4 separate regions of the Homo sapiens genome follow, and all the other regions are linked to region 4. The links are contacts of gene promoters, found by promoter capture Hi-C in human tissues and cell types (Jung and others, 2019). All regions are on one chromosome and are shown on one strand. Each heading gives the region's core, a stretch centred on a gene start or on the middle of the fragment in contact. The rest is flanking DNA. Distances are from core to core; before and after follow the strand shown.

What was found. The method cuts DNA at HindIII sites, captures the fragments that hold promoters and counts their contacts. A contact is called where the count stands out against the background at its distance.
Region 1: a contact is called between the fragment with the promoter of HNRNPC here and the fragment with the promoter of ACIN1 in region 4, in 1 of the 25 tissues and cell types used here (pancreas).
Region 2: a contact is called between the fragment with the promoter of SUPT16H here and the fragment with the promoter of ACIN1 in region 4, in 1 of the 25 tissues and cell types used here (hippocampus).
Region 3: a contact is called between the fragment with the promoter of CHD8 here and the fragment with the promoter of ACIN1 in region 4, in 1 of the 25 tissues and cell types used here (hippocampus).

The regions. Positions count from the first base shown.
Region 1 is chr14:21,268,058-21,270,757 of GRCh38, reverse strand. It overlaps HNRNPC (heterogeneous nuclear ribonucleoprotein C), which reads left to right and starts at 1,316. Exons shown (of 9, transcript NM_004500.4): 1 at 1,316-1,460. RefSeq lists enhancers at 587-1,212, 1,316-1,575, 1,213-1,837 and a silencer at 1,146-1,225. The HindIII fragment of the contact is 14,707 bases long and covers 1-2,700 here.
Region 2 is chr14:21,382,613-21,385,312 of GRCh38, reverse strand. SUPT16H (SPT16 homolog, facilitates chromatin remodeling subunit) reads left to right here and starts at 1,294. Exons shown (of 26, transcript NM_007192.4): 1 at 1,294-1,451. The coding sequence starts at 1,386. It overlaps CHD8 (chromodomain helicase DNA binding protein 8), which reads left to right. Exons shown (of 38, transcript NM_001170629.2): 38 at 1-114. LOC107984643 (a long non-coding RNA gene) reads right to left here and starts at 1,040. Exons shown (of 2, transcript XR_001750627.2): 1 at 600-1,040. The HindIII fragment of the contact is 14,834 bases long and covers 1-2,700 here.
Region 3 is chr14:21,454,850-21,457,549 of GRCh38, reverse strand. It overlaps CHD8 (chromodomain helicase DNA binding protein 8), which reads left to right and starts at 1,427. Exons shown (of 38, transcript NM_001170629.2): 1 at 1,427-1,518. It overlaps LOC124903283 (a long non-coding RNA gene), which reads right to left and starts at 1,153. Exons shown (of 2, transcript XR_007064064.1): 1 at 1,073-1,153. RefSeq lists enhancers at 27-578, 855-904, 915-964, 579-1,130, 995-1,684. The HindIII fragment of the contact is 24,117 bases long and covers 1-2,700 here.
Region 4 is chr14:23,093,786-23,096,510 of GRCh38, reverse strand. It overlaps ACIN1 (apoptotic chromatin condensation inducer 1), which reads left to right and starts at 1,375. Exons shown (of 19, transcript NM_001386863.1): 1 at 1,375-1,536. The coding sequence starts at 1,399. It overlaps C14orf119 (chromosome 14 open reading frame 119), which reads right to left and starts at 1,006. Exons shown (of 2, transcript NM_017924.4): 1 at 892-1,006. RefSeq lists enhancers at 572-1,095, 975-1,184, 1,205-1,284, 1,096-1,619, 1,325-1,634. The HindIII fragment of the contact is 4,223 bases long and covers 1-2,626 here.

The DNA of each region.
Region 1 (2,700 bases), core at 67-2,566, 1.8 Mb after region 4:
ACTTTAGTGTATACTTTCTCCCATATTTTTCGTCTTTGCTTTTTAAAATAGTTTAAAGTGGTCTGGCGTGGTGGCTCACGCCTATAATCTTATCACTTTGGGAGGCAGAGGCGGGCGGATCACCTGAACAGTCTGGCCAACATGGCGAAACCCCATCTGTACTAAAAATACAAAAATTAGCTGGACATGGTGGCGCGCACCTGTAGTTCCAGCTACTCAGGAGGCTGAGGCAGGAAAATCGCTTGAACCCGGGAGGCGGAGGTTGCAGTGAGCCAAGATCGCGCCACTGCACTCCAGCCTGGGCGACAGTGACTCTGCCTCAAAAAAAAAAAAAAAAAAAAAAAAAAAAGAAAAGAAAAAAGAAACCGCTGGCTTAGTAGAGCTGATGCTACCCCACTGCGTGCGCAGTTCCTATAATGTAACCAGAGAGACTGGCAGGTGACGGGGGTAGGTAGGAGACAAGCCATTTCAAGAGGAGGGAAATTAAGGGACCAGATTTGGAAGGATGGGCCAATTTTGCTGGCACTTAAGATATTAGATGCCCTGGGGCCAGAGGCCAGGATTCTGCACTTCCTTTTTATATTGGAGAGGAATAAGGAAGTCAGTTGGTTTCGATGGAACATGTGTTGTCTGAAGAAGGGTTTAATAGGCCAAGAAGCAGATGTCTACGAGGTAGCTGACATTCGAATCTGGAACTGAGAAAGGGTCTGGGGTTGGAAAAACTGCAGGACTGGTTAGTTTTCTACACACTTTAACAAGGCCTAGTCACTGCTGCTCCCTCCTCATTTTAAGAAAAGTCCTTTCTTTATTCACATTGCACAACGGAGGCTTCATTTCGCGCTTTTTTTTCCCTAGGCCCGGGGCTGGGGCAGGTCTTTTGCGCCCGTCACCTAACTACGCCCCTCAACCCTTTCCCCGCCCCCGCGCAGCCGGAAATCCGAGGTCTGGGCGGATCTTCTACTAGGCACTCTAAGGGGCAGCGATAGGACGCCGCGGCCGCCAATCAGGCCTCCCAGATACCCGGATGTGAGACGGTGCGCGATACAAAGGCGAGTTTCCACCCAGAGGGTCGTCCCGTGCAATAGCCAATAAGCATTCTCCAGGCAATAAATGACAGGAAAACTAACCAGTTATAAACTAGTTTCTCTCACGCATGTGGAAATTCGCCTGCTTAGTCTAACCCACTGCTAATTGTGATTGGATATCATTGTGAGGAGCGGTTGAACTGTCTAATTAGGAGCGGGAGCGAAAAAACGCACAGCCAATAGGAAGATTCTCAGGAATGGGGCGGGGACTAGGCCTTCGCCTCGGCGGCAGAGGAGACTCGGGGGCCATTTTGTGAAGAGACGAAGACTGAGCGGTTGTGGCCGCGTTGCCGACCTCCAGCAGCAGTCGGCTTCTCTACGCAGAACCCGGGAGTAGGAGACTCAGAATCGAATCTCTTCTCCCTCCCCTTCTTGGTAAGTGGAGAGGGCGGACGCAGGGAAGGCGCTGGGTTTTTCGGGAAGCGAGAGGGGGTGTGGGAGAGAAGATGTGGGAATCCTTCCCCCTAACTAACCGGGCCCTCATTTATTCTGCTTGTTTTGGGGGATTAGGTTGAAGCCGGGGGCAGTTTTATAGGCCTCAGCCTCTGTATAGGTTTAACCTGGTGTCCTCTAGGCCACGATCGCCAGGGAAAATGTCCTTTTTTCGCTCTTCCTGTGTTAACGGCTGCTTTCCTTTCATTTTCTACGACCGCGAGGACTACGGGATCATGAAAATGAAGATCGTGATGCTCATTAATATAGTCGAAGTTAACGTAGCGCCGATGCCTTCTATTACCTCCGTTCTTCTTACATGTAAAAAGTGGGGGAGGGGAAGGGGGAAGGTTACCAAGTAGATGTATCGCGAGCCTTTAAATCCTGGATCGTGCCGCGTGGCCTACGAGAAAGGTTTAACAAAAGATTCAGCATTTTACTGATAACTTTTTATTTTATTTCTCTCTATGAGCAAATGATGGAGCTCGAAGTAGTTATTTTCACTTACATTTGTAAAAGGAAATATTGTGATATAACTATATTAATATTTACAGCTGACTTTTCATCTGCAGGTTACAAAACACTTGAAATATATAAGTTAGTGGAACTTTGCTTGAGGTAGGTATTAACTCTCTTTCTCAGACGGAAACTGAGGCAGAAAAGTGTTGGTTGCTAGGGTCATATTAAGTCAGTAGCAGCACTAGTAAGGAATTTGACCACGAGGTCAGTCGAGTGGTTTTTACCTAGTTAATGGAATACCTAGTTAATATAGTTCTAAAACTACTGTATTGCAATCTTTGCCAAGAACCTGATGACGGAAACCACGAGGTAACTGGAAATTCCCAAATTGCGCTTAAGAAAAATACTACGAGACTTGAGAATTTTTTAACGTAACTTCCTAAGTGTAAGATGACAAAATTTGACTTTCGGGATATTCTGGCGTTAATTTTCCCGTCCGCCTAAATGTGGGCAAAAATTCACAGCTACGTTATATTAAGCAAATATTAACAGTGCCTATTATTTGCTGGGTGCTGAAATTTGATAAAAAACTTAAAAGTTAAAAAAAATTGTTTAGATCTTTAGTGTCACATTGACTTATCTGGGACATCGCTTTTTTTAATCCTCACATGAGATTTGGCTAAGTTTATTTTTCACAATCTGTTAATCTCACAAAAACTAAAGC
Region 2 (2,700 bases), core at 45-2,544, 1.7 Mb after region 4:
CGCTGGCCCTAGCCTCTGGCAGAGCCTGTTCCTGGCCGAACTGTGGATACAGCTGGAGGGTCAGGAACTGTTACCTTCTTTCCCCTTGGCATTAATAAATTTAAGTTAATCCTTTTCCACTCTTCCTTTGTTCTATGTTTGCTCAAACCCAGTGTATTGATTTTGAGTTGTTAATGGTGGGTAATTTCAGCACCACTTTCCTTAAGTTCAATACTGTTTATACTAAATTGCCTTACAGCAGACAAGTCATCTGTACTCCTCTAAAGGGTATATACAAATGTAGACTGTCCAGCTGGCTAAAGGCAAGGGAATTATTTAAGGTAAATGGTAGGTAGGCAAACTTCTGGATTCAAACTCCAAGTTTTTAGAAGAGACAGGGAGCAAGAATGTCATCAGGAACCATTTATGTTTTGTTTCTAATTAACTGAAGTAACGGTTATTTGGGGGAAGCCATAGAATAGTGCCAGTTTTCATGAACTGCAGCAAGGGGACTGGCCGACTGGAAGGATGCTGCCGCGACTTGGGCTCAGGGGGTGGGGTTGTGGGAAGGAACTAAAAGTTTGTAGAGCCCCTCAAGTCATCTGTTTCCTCTGACTTACACCATCCCACTGCTCAGTTAAAGCTTGCGCATATTATTTTCCTTTCGAAAACTAGGTTCCTCCCCCAGCTTGGGTCGTAGTTTATCACGAGGCTGGGCTCCATTTCCCTGGTATGAGTCCTCTGTCCCGGCGGAGCGCTTGACCCAGCATCCTGGCACCGAGGATCCCTCGAGTCCTGGAGCAGTCAAGGGCTTTTGCATTCCCATCATTTCTAGGAGGGGCGCATGCCCAGTTACACTGTAGTAGTCCCACTTTTATCCCACGCTAGATCCCGCTCTTTCCGCTCCCCCTTCCTTTGCAGATGGGGTGGAGCTATAACACCCGCGCGCGGCAGCTCTTGTGGGCGGGGCAGGCGCCGCCTCCTTCGCTTCGTCTAGGGACTGCCGCCTCGGCAAAAAGTCTGAGGTCCTGGAAACCGCCGCTGGGCTGAGAGTTAATAAGGGCGGAGGCAGACCGTCACGTGACGACGTCGATTCGCGTGCGGCAGTGGCGAAGTTGACAAACCCCGCGAAAATCGACTCTTTGCATCGCACATTTTGTTGATTTTCCCTCGTTTTTCTTTCTCTCTTTCCCCCGTCCATCCGAAAGAGGGTTGGAAAAAAACAAAACAAACAAACAAACAAAAAAAAAACCTAACGCTGTTGGGACCCGGAAGCGGAAAGGGCATCTTTGAGGTCGATACTTCCGGGTCATTGGGAGAGTGCGGGATTCCTGGGCCGAGAGCGGGTGGCTGAGCCGGGACCTCGCGTGATTCTCGGAACCCGAGGAGAAGCGGCGTCCGGGGCTATGGCTGTGACTCTGGACAAAGACGCTTATTATCGGCGAGTGAAGAGACTGTACAGCAATTGGCGGGTGAGGAAGATCCTGTAATTTTTCCTAGGGAGCCCCCTTAGCCATCCCATAATAACCCTGTTTCTCGGCGCCCTTTTTTCTCTTTCGGTCAGGAATTCCCGGGTTCTGTGCCTCACCCTTTTCGTTGCTCCCGAATCATTCACCGGAGGCGGCCACGAACGCTGCCCCTTAACAGGGAATCCCCCGCATTCACCCTGTCCTGCGGCCATCACCATCTTCCCCGCGTGCCAGCCTTGGTCATGCATAGCAGCACCTCTCGCAGTCTCTTCCCGCCCTAGAAGAGGCAACATCCTTCCCTCCTACTCCGTGGTCACGTCTTGCTGCCCTCCCCTGCCGTGTTCTCACGCACTCGCTCTGTCCCTCCAGAACCACAATATTCCACCCCTGGTCCCGCCAGGATTATAACCGTCTTCGTAAAGGAGAGATGGAAGGGCAAGGAGGATGTCAATCGGGCTTTTAGCGTTTATCGTTTGCGGGGCTTTTGCTGGAGTTAAAAAAAGAAATACTGCTCACGCGCAACCGCCTCATGTTCTAGGCCCTGCTGTGGGTTACAGAGAGGGACCTAACGCTGAAAGCCTGCAGGCATTAGTAATAACAAAACAAAACAAAACGATGCCTAAAACCTTATTAGTTCCTTGGTAGCGTATCCGGGGCACGTGTTCATTAAAAGAGCTGTGGCAGTTCCCAGTTTTTTAAAGATTCGGCAGTTTTGCTGCTCTAAAAACGTCCACAGTTAAAACTTATTTTTATGATGTTAACTTACTAATTGAGCAAACATTTGGTTGCATTCTGTGATGCAGTCTGAGTTGGCTAGCTTAAGTCTTGCCCCTGAACCCTGTCATCAAGGGAAGATACAGCTAATAAAGATTTTTTTTTAACCTGAAAAACGTTTTGAGAAAAATGATCAGCTCTCATTTCAGCATTGTAAATTATCTTTCAAACTGGTCATCTACTAAAACCAAGCCATTAAAATTGGTCGTTTCCTTGCCATTCATATTAAAGCTGTCTGTGCATGTTTCATCTTTTGGGGCTAAATACATTAGATAATTGAAAATAAAATTGATTCTCTTGCATTTTATGAAAAGGAAAAATAAGAACTAAATGCTAGATGAATACTGAACATTTTATTTTTTTTAATTTTTTGATTAATTTCTACCAAATGATTTTTTGCAGCTTCTCTCAGTGTCATATTATTCAAACATAATCGATGTTAGAAAAACATTTTAAAACCTTGATACTTTCTAATGAT
Region 3 (2,700 bases), core at 178-2,677, 1.6 Mb after region 4:
TTCAAGCGATTCTCCTGCCTCAGCCTCCCGAGTAGCTGGGATTATGGGTGTCTGCCACCACGCCCGGCTAATTTTTTTTTGTATCTTTACTAGAGACGGGGTTTCACTATGTTGGCCAGGCTGCTCTCGAACTCCTGACCTCAGGCGATCCACCCGCCTCAGCCTCCCAAAGTGCTGGGATTACAGGCGTGAGCCACTGCGCCCAGCTTAAGGCCGAGTCTTATCACTCATATGACTTCTTGATGTCTCTGAGCTCCTATCATGTAAGACCATGCAATTATGTTACTCCTTGAGAAATTCCTTTAATAATCTGGAAGGATTCCCTCACTCACAACTTTAAAAAAGATTTCTTGGCCAGGAATGGTGGCTCATGTCTGTAATCCCAGCACTTTGGGAGGCCGAGGTGGGCGGATCACTTGAGGTCTGGAGTTCGAAACCAGCCTGACCAACATGGCGAAACCCCGTCTCTACTAAAAATACAAAAATTAGCTGGGCGTGGTGGCGGGAGCCTGTAGTCTCAGCTACTCAGGAAGCTGAGACAGGAGAATTGCTTGAACCCGGGAGGCAGAGGTTGCAGTGAGCCGAGATCGCCCCACTGCACTCCAGCCTGGGTGACCGAGCGAGACTCCATCTCAAAAAAAAAAAAAAAAATTAGGCCTTTAAAAAAAAAAAGGAATTCCTCCTTAAGTCCTGTTCTTGATTTCCAACTGATTCACAGTGCCCCTACTGGAAAATTTGCAGTGAATCCTAAAGCTTAGTAGCACCTATAATAGATACATGTCCTGATATTTTGAGTGAGGTGTCCATAAAGGATTACCCTAGGAAAGTGCAACTTTCACTCTCATTAGAAGAATTAATTTTTGCTTATTTGATTTGTTAAAATTGCTTTACTCCTACAGTTAAGTGAGAGGGTGGTGGTGGTTGTTGCCCGTAACCACATACGGCATTACTCCAGGGTTTCACGTCGTGACTGAGGGGCCTCCTAAGTGTATACAGCAGAGTATGTTCGGGCTGGACCTAGATAGTCGGACAGAACACCGACAGGGTCTTCACATTCTTTAAGCACTCTCACCCAGTCCCGGAGTCCGAGCCAAGATGGCTTCCCAGAAGTAGGTAACTAAGTGTTGTTTTAGTTCACAGCGCCCCCAATGGCGGGGGTCAAAAAAAGATGCCGAGGGGCCTGGCCGCCTGTGAACTGAGTCGTCAGAGGCGAGCCGCCGCCAGATTTTATTTTCAATCAGGCATATTTGTGGTCGCCTACGTACCCTTCTCATCCTCCTAGGACCTTCCACCCTCAAGAGACTTCCTGGATGGCGCTCACACTAGCTCGCTGGAAGAGGCCGGGCTTCGGTGCTGCCATTGGCGGATGGGAGCGCAGGGGGGCGGAGCCTAGGGAGAATGGACTACTAGCAAGCTAGATTGAGGCGAGGGCTGGCCATGCTCCGCCGGAAGGCGCCTTGTTCTCGGAGAGGGTGAGTTGAAACGCTGCCTGGAAAGGAAGTACCAGGACTTGCACAGGTAGGCTTCCCGCTCGCACCCGCTCCTCAGTGCTGGGCCAGGAGTCAGCAAAAGCTGAGGCTCTCAGAGATTTGATTTAAGTAACTCCTTCTCCTCTCTCTTCCACCCCCTGCTCGCCCCCCAGTTGTGAGGGATCAGGTGCGGGGTGATGCTCCGGACTGAACCAGTCTCCTTTGTGAGAGGCCGGGGGAGAGGGTGGCTGCCGGGCCGCGGGGTCCGAGCCGGGCCGAGCCGCGAGGGACTGCTTGGGACGCTGTGGAGTTTTCAGGGCTTGTCATTGCATTACTGGGCGTAGTGTAGATTGGAGGCGGCGCCTTGTTCTCCTCTCTTCAGAGAAGGGAAAACTCCTCGGCCCCGTTTGGTTACTCCATACTTTGGATTCAGAAATAGGTGGTTAGGGTTTTCTACTTCTTTTTATTTTTTTTTCTTCTGTATTTTAATAATAAAGGTGGGTAGGAAAGCATGGGGTAAGCGTAAGCAGATTGTTACTCATTCTCAGGTGTAAGTTCTGTGGGTCTCCTGGCAGTGAAGAGCAGGCTGTTGGAGAATGTTTAGAGATGGTGGGAAGAGAGGAGCTCAAGCCTTGCATCCTCCTTGACAGGTCTGCAGAGCTCACTGGTTTTCCGTTGCATTATGTAAACTCGTCACTGATAGAAGACCCTTCCCCCTGCTTTGGAACGAATGCAGTTTATTTACCTGTCTCTAGTGTCGCAGGGAATTTCCCTGCAGCAGCTGTATAAATGCAGCAGCCTCTTGCTTTTTAAGGGACAGTCTTGAAGCGGTTAGGGTCTTCACAGAAAAGGTATATAGTGGACCCATCTCTTTCGTATGGCTAAGCAAAGTGAGCCAGAAGTCAAAGATTTAGAACTCTGTCTTTTTCTATTAAAGAATAAACAGCGGAGCGCCCCAAACACAAGCCAGGGGAGCTGCCTTATCAGTGTCTGCTGCATCCTACCATCACAGCGGCGTCTACAGATCGTTTCATCTCCATGCTTTTCTGAGTTTGTCGACTCAGTCAAGGATTCTCAGCCTAGGTTAGCATATGCTGAAGTCATCTGGTGTGGGGCACATTACATATCGAAAGTGAGTTTGTGATTTGAATCGTGTCCTGTGTTAGTTAATTAGATCGTGTCTTCTGCTTAGGAATTTCTTTTGTATTGGTCATCCAATAGGTTTCAGAAC
Region 4 (2,725 bases), core at 126-2,625:
TTGAGACGGAGTCTTGCTCTGTCACCCAGGCTGTAGTGCAATGGCGTGATCTCAACCACTGCTTCCTGGGTTCAAGCGATTCTCCTGCCTCAGCCTCCCGAGTAGCTGGGACTATAGGCGTACGCCACCACGCCCGGCTAATTTGTTTGTATTTTTAGTAGAGACGGGGTTTCACCATATTGGCCAGACTGGTCTCCAACTCCTGACCTCAAGTGATCCGCCCGCCTCGGCCTCCCAAAGTGCTGGGATTATAGGCGTAAGCCACCGCGCCCGGCACCTTGCCACTGATTTTGCATCATGAATGCAACGGAAAGATCAGCCAATTTGACTTTAATAGTTTTCAGTCTCTTAAATCTCTAACGTATCTCTTAAATCTCTAAACTATTTGTCTGTGACCTATTTTACTGTTTGTGTTTCTTCTGCATCAAGTTGGAGGATTGGTAGTGACAAAGAAAGAAGCCCCTAAACAATTAATATTAGTTCAAGTACCAAAAAAGTTCAGGGCGCTTGCATTTTCCAGTTCTTGCCCTACAGGAAGCAGTTCCTCCAAGGGAACTTACTCTCTTCTGCGGAGCAAGGAAGAACTTTCCCAGAATCTTGCCACATGGCTTCCAAGGCAAACTCAAACTCAAGTTCAGCGTCATAGATCAGTTCATAGTCTGGGTCCGAAGACACGGCGATGCTTCTTGCGCACCCCCACGGAGCTTGTTATTCCGATTCCGCACCAGCCCCCCGCCCCTCCCCAAAAAAAGCCTAAGATGGGAGTGGCTATGATTCAGAGGACAGAGGGCAGAAGCTGTTTGCGTTAAGGAGTGGGGGGCTTGCCCTATTAAGGTAATCCGCAAACACCGAGTCTGACCCGGCCCATAGAGGTACTTCTACCCCGCTTACCTCCCCTTTTCTCTCGAAGGGCACCCGAAGATTGTCACGAGTCCTTAGACTCCAACTACTGCGGCAGCTTCCAAATTTCCTGAAAACCCTAAGCTGGGCCAGCCCGGCAGCCCACGCACTTCCGGCCTCGGACCCGCCCCAAACACCCAAGCGCCCCAGCGCCTCATCTCTAGGTCCGGAAATAAACGAACATCTCCGATTATGGTTATACCAGGGTCGAGGGTTTCCGAATATATTCGATTCAAAGCTTCGGCAAGACGAAGAAAACCGAGCCTGAAAGCAGGGCGAGAAAAGGGGCGCTGCAGGGCGGATGGAAAGAATTGATTGGTAACGATGTGGAGACGGAAACATCCGAGGACATCCGGAGGAACCCGGGGAGTTCTGAGTGGTAATCGAGGGGTAGAGTATGGCAGTGGGCGGGGTCATCTCGGTACGTTCGAAGGGCGTTGGCGGAAATTACCGAAGATGCCCGAAGCCGTCGGGACGGACCCGAGTACCTCACGCAAGATGGCGGAGCTGGAGGAGGTGACTCTGGACGGGAAGCCTCTTCAGGCGCTGCGGGTGACCGACCTGAAGGCCGCACTGGAGCAGCGAGGCCTAGCCAAGAGCGGGCAGAAGAGTGCCCTGGTCAAGCGGCTCAAAGGGGTGAGGAGTCGGCGTTGCTGGGGTGTCGGAGGAGAGCGGACCCGGTAGAGACGAGCCTCTGCCGCGGCGCAGGCGCAGTATCCGGGCTCGGCGCGAGCTCGCTCAGGCCGCCAGCGCGAGCCTCTGGATCCGCGCGCACGGTGGTTGATGAGGTTCGCGCTGGAATGGAGATCGCGCCGGTTCCCGCCTTAACGGCAGCAGCGCGAGCCCAAATGGGAGGGTGTGCACTACTCTCCAGGAGTGTCTTAAGCTCCTTCCTCCTTCCCCCACCCCCTCCTTGTTTGTATCTGTGGTTTCGGCGCATGCGCTGCAGAAGGAGTTAAATCCCACTACAACCTACGGCGTTGCTGGCCTGAGGGGGGCGAGTTGGGCTGGGTCGGAGTTAGGGGTATAGTTGCGCGAAGGGGTGGATGGGGTTGGTATCGGTATCTGCACGAATAGGACTGGGGTAGGGTAAAATGTCTGCTCGATTAGATGAGGAGGTGAGATGAAGAGAGACCTTTATTTGAAGGGACTTGATGAGAGAGAGGTCTCTAATTTAGTGGCATCTAGTGGCAATTTGGGTGGTTAAGAGTTTGGTGAATATTGGTGAGAGAGGCGAGGCAGGTTGATATATATTGGGGATTTTGAATCGGTTTGAGTAGATTAAGGTGGGATTGTCATGAGGTAGGTGTAGCTCGATTCAAGTGTATAGGTTTGGTTTAAAGAAGGGAAGATGAGGATGTCTTGGTTTTAATTAGAGTTCAACAGGATACGTGGCAGGTAGTGCAGATTAGGTCTGGGTTGGCTCCAGGGTTGAGTTGGCAGACCGTTGCTTATACAGAAGCTGATAGTTTTGTGTGTGTGTGTTTGTGTGTGTGTGTTTGTGTGGATAGACTAGGTTAGACCACAGTTTACAGGGTCTGTGGTCATTTTCTTCTGTAGCTTCCTCTTTGAAAATTTTATAAATTTGATAAATCTAGGTGCCACAGTACTGGAAATTATACAAATTGACCCTGGTACTGGGTAACCCTTTGACCAAGTAATTCCGTCAGGCAAAAACCAGGAGCCCCATGGCTGGTTTGAGTATTTTAAGTAATTTTACATGCATGATCAGATTTAGAAGGGGCACTTGGCGAAAGTGCAGAAGATAATAGGGATTTTAGTACTGGTTCTATTACTGATATTATGACATAGCCAGGTCACTGAT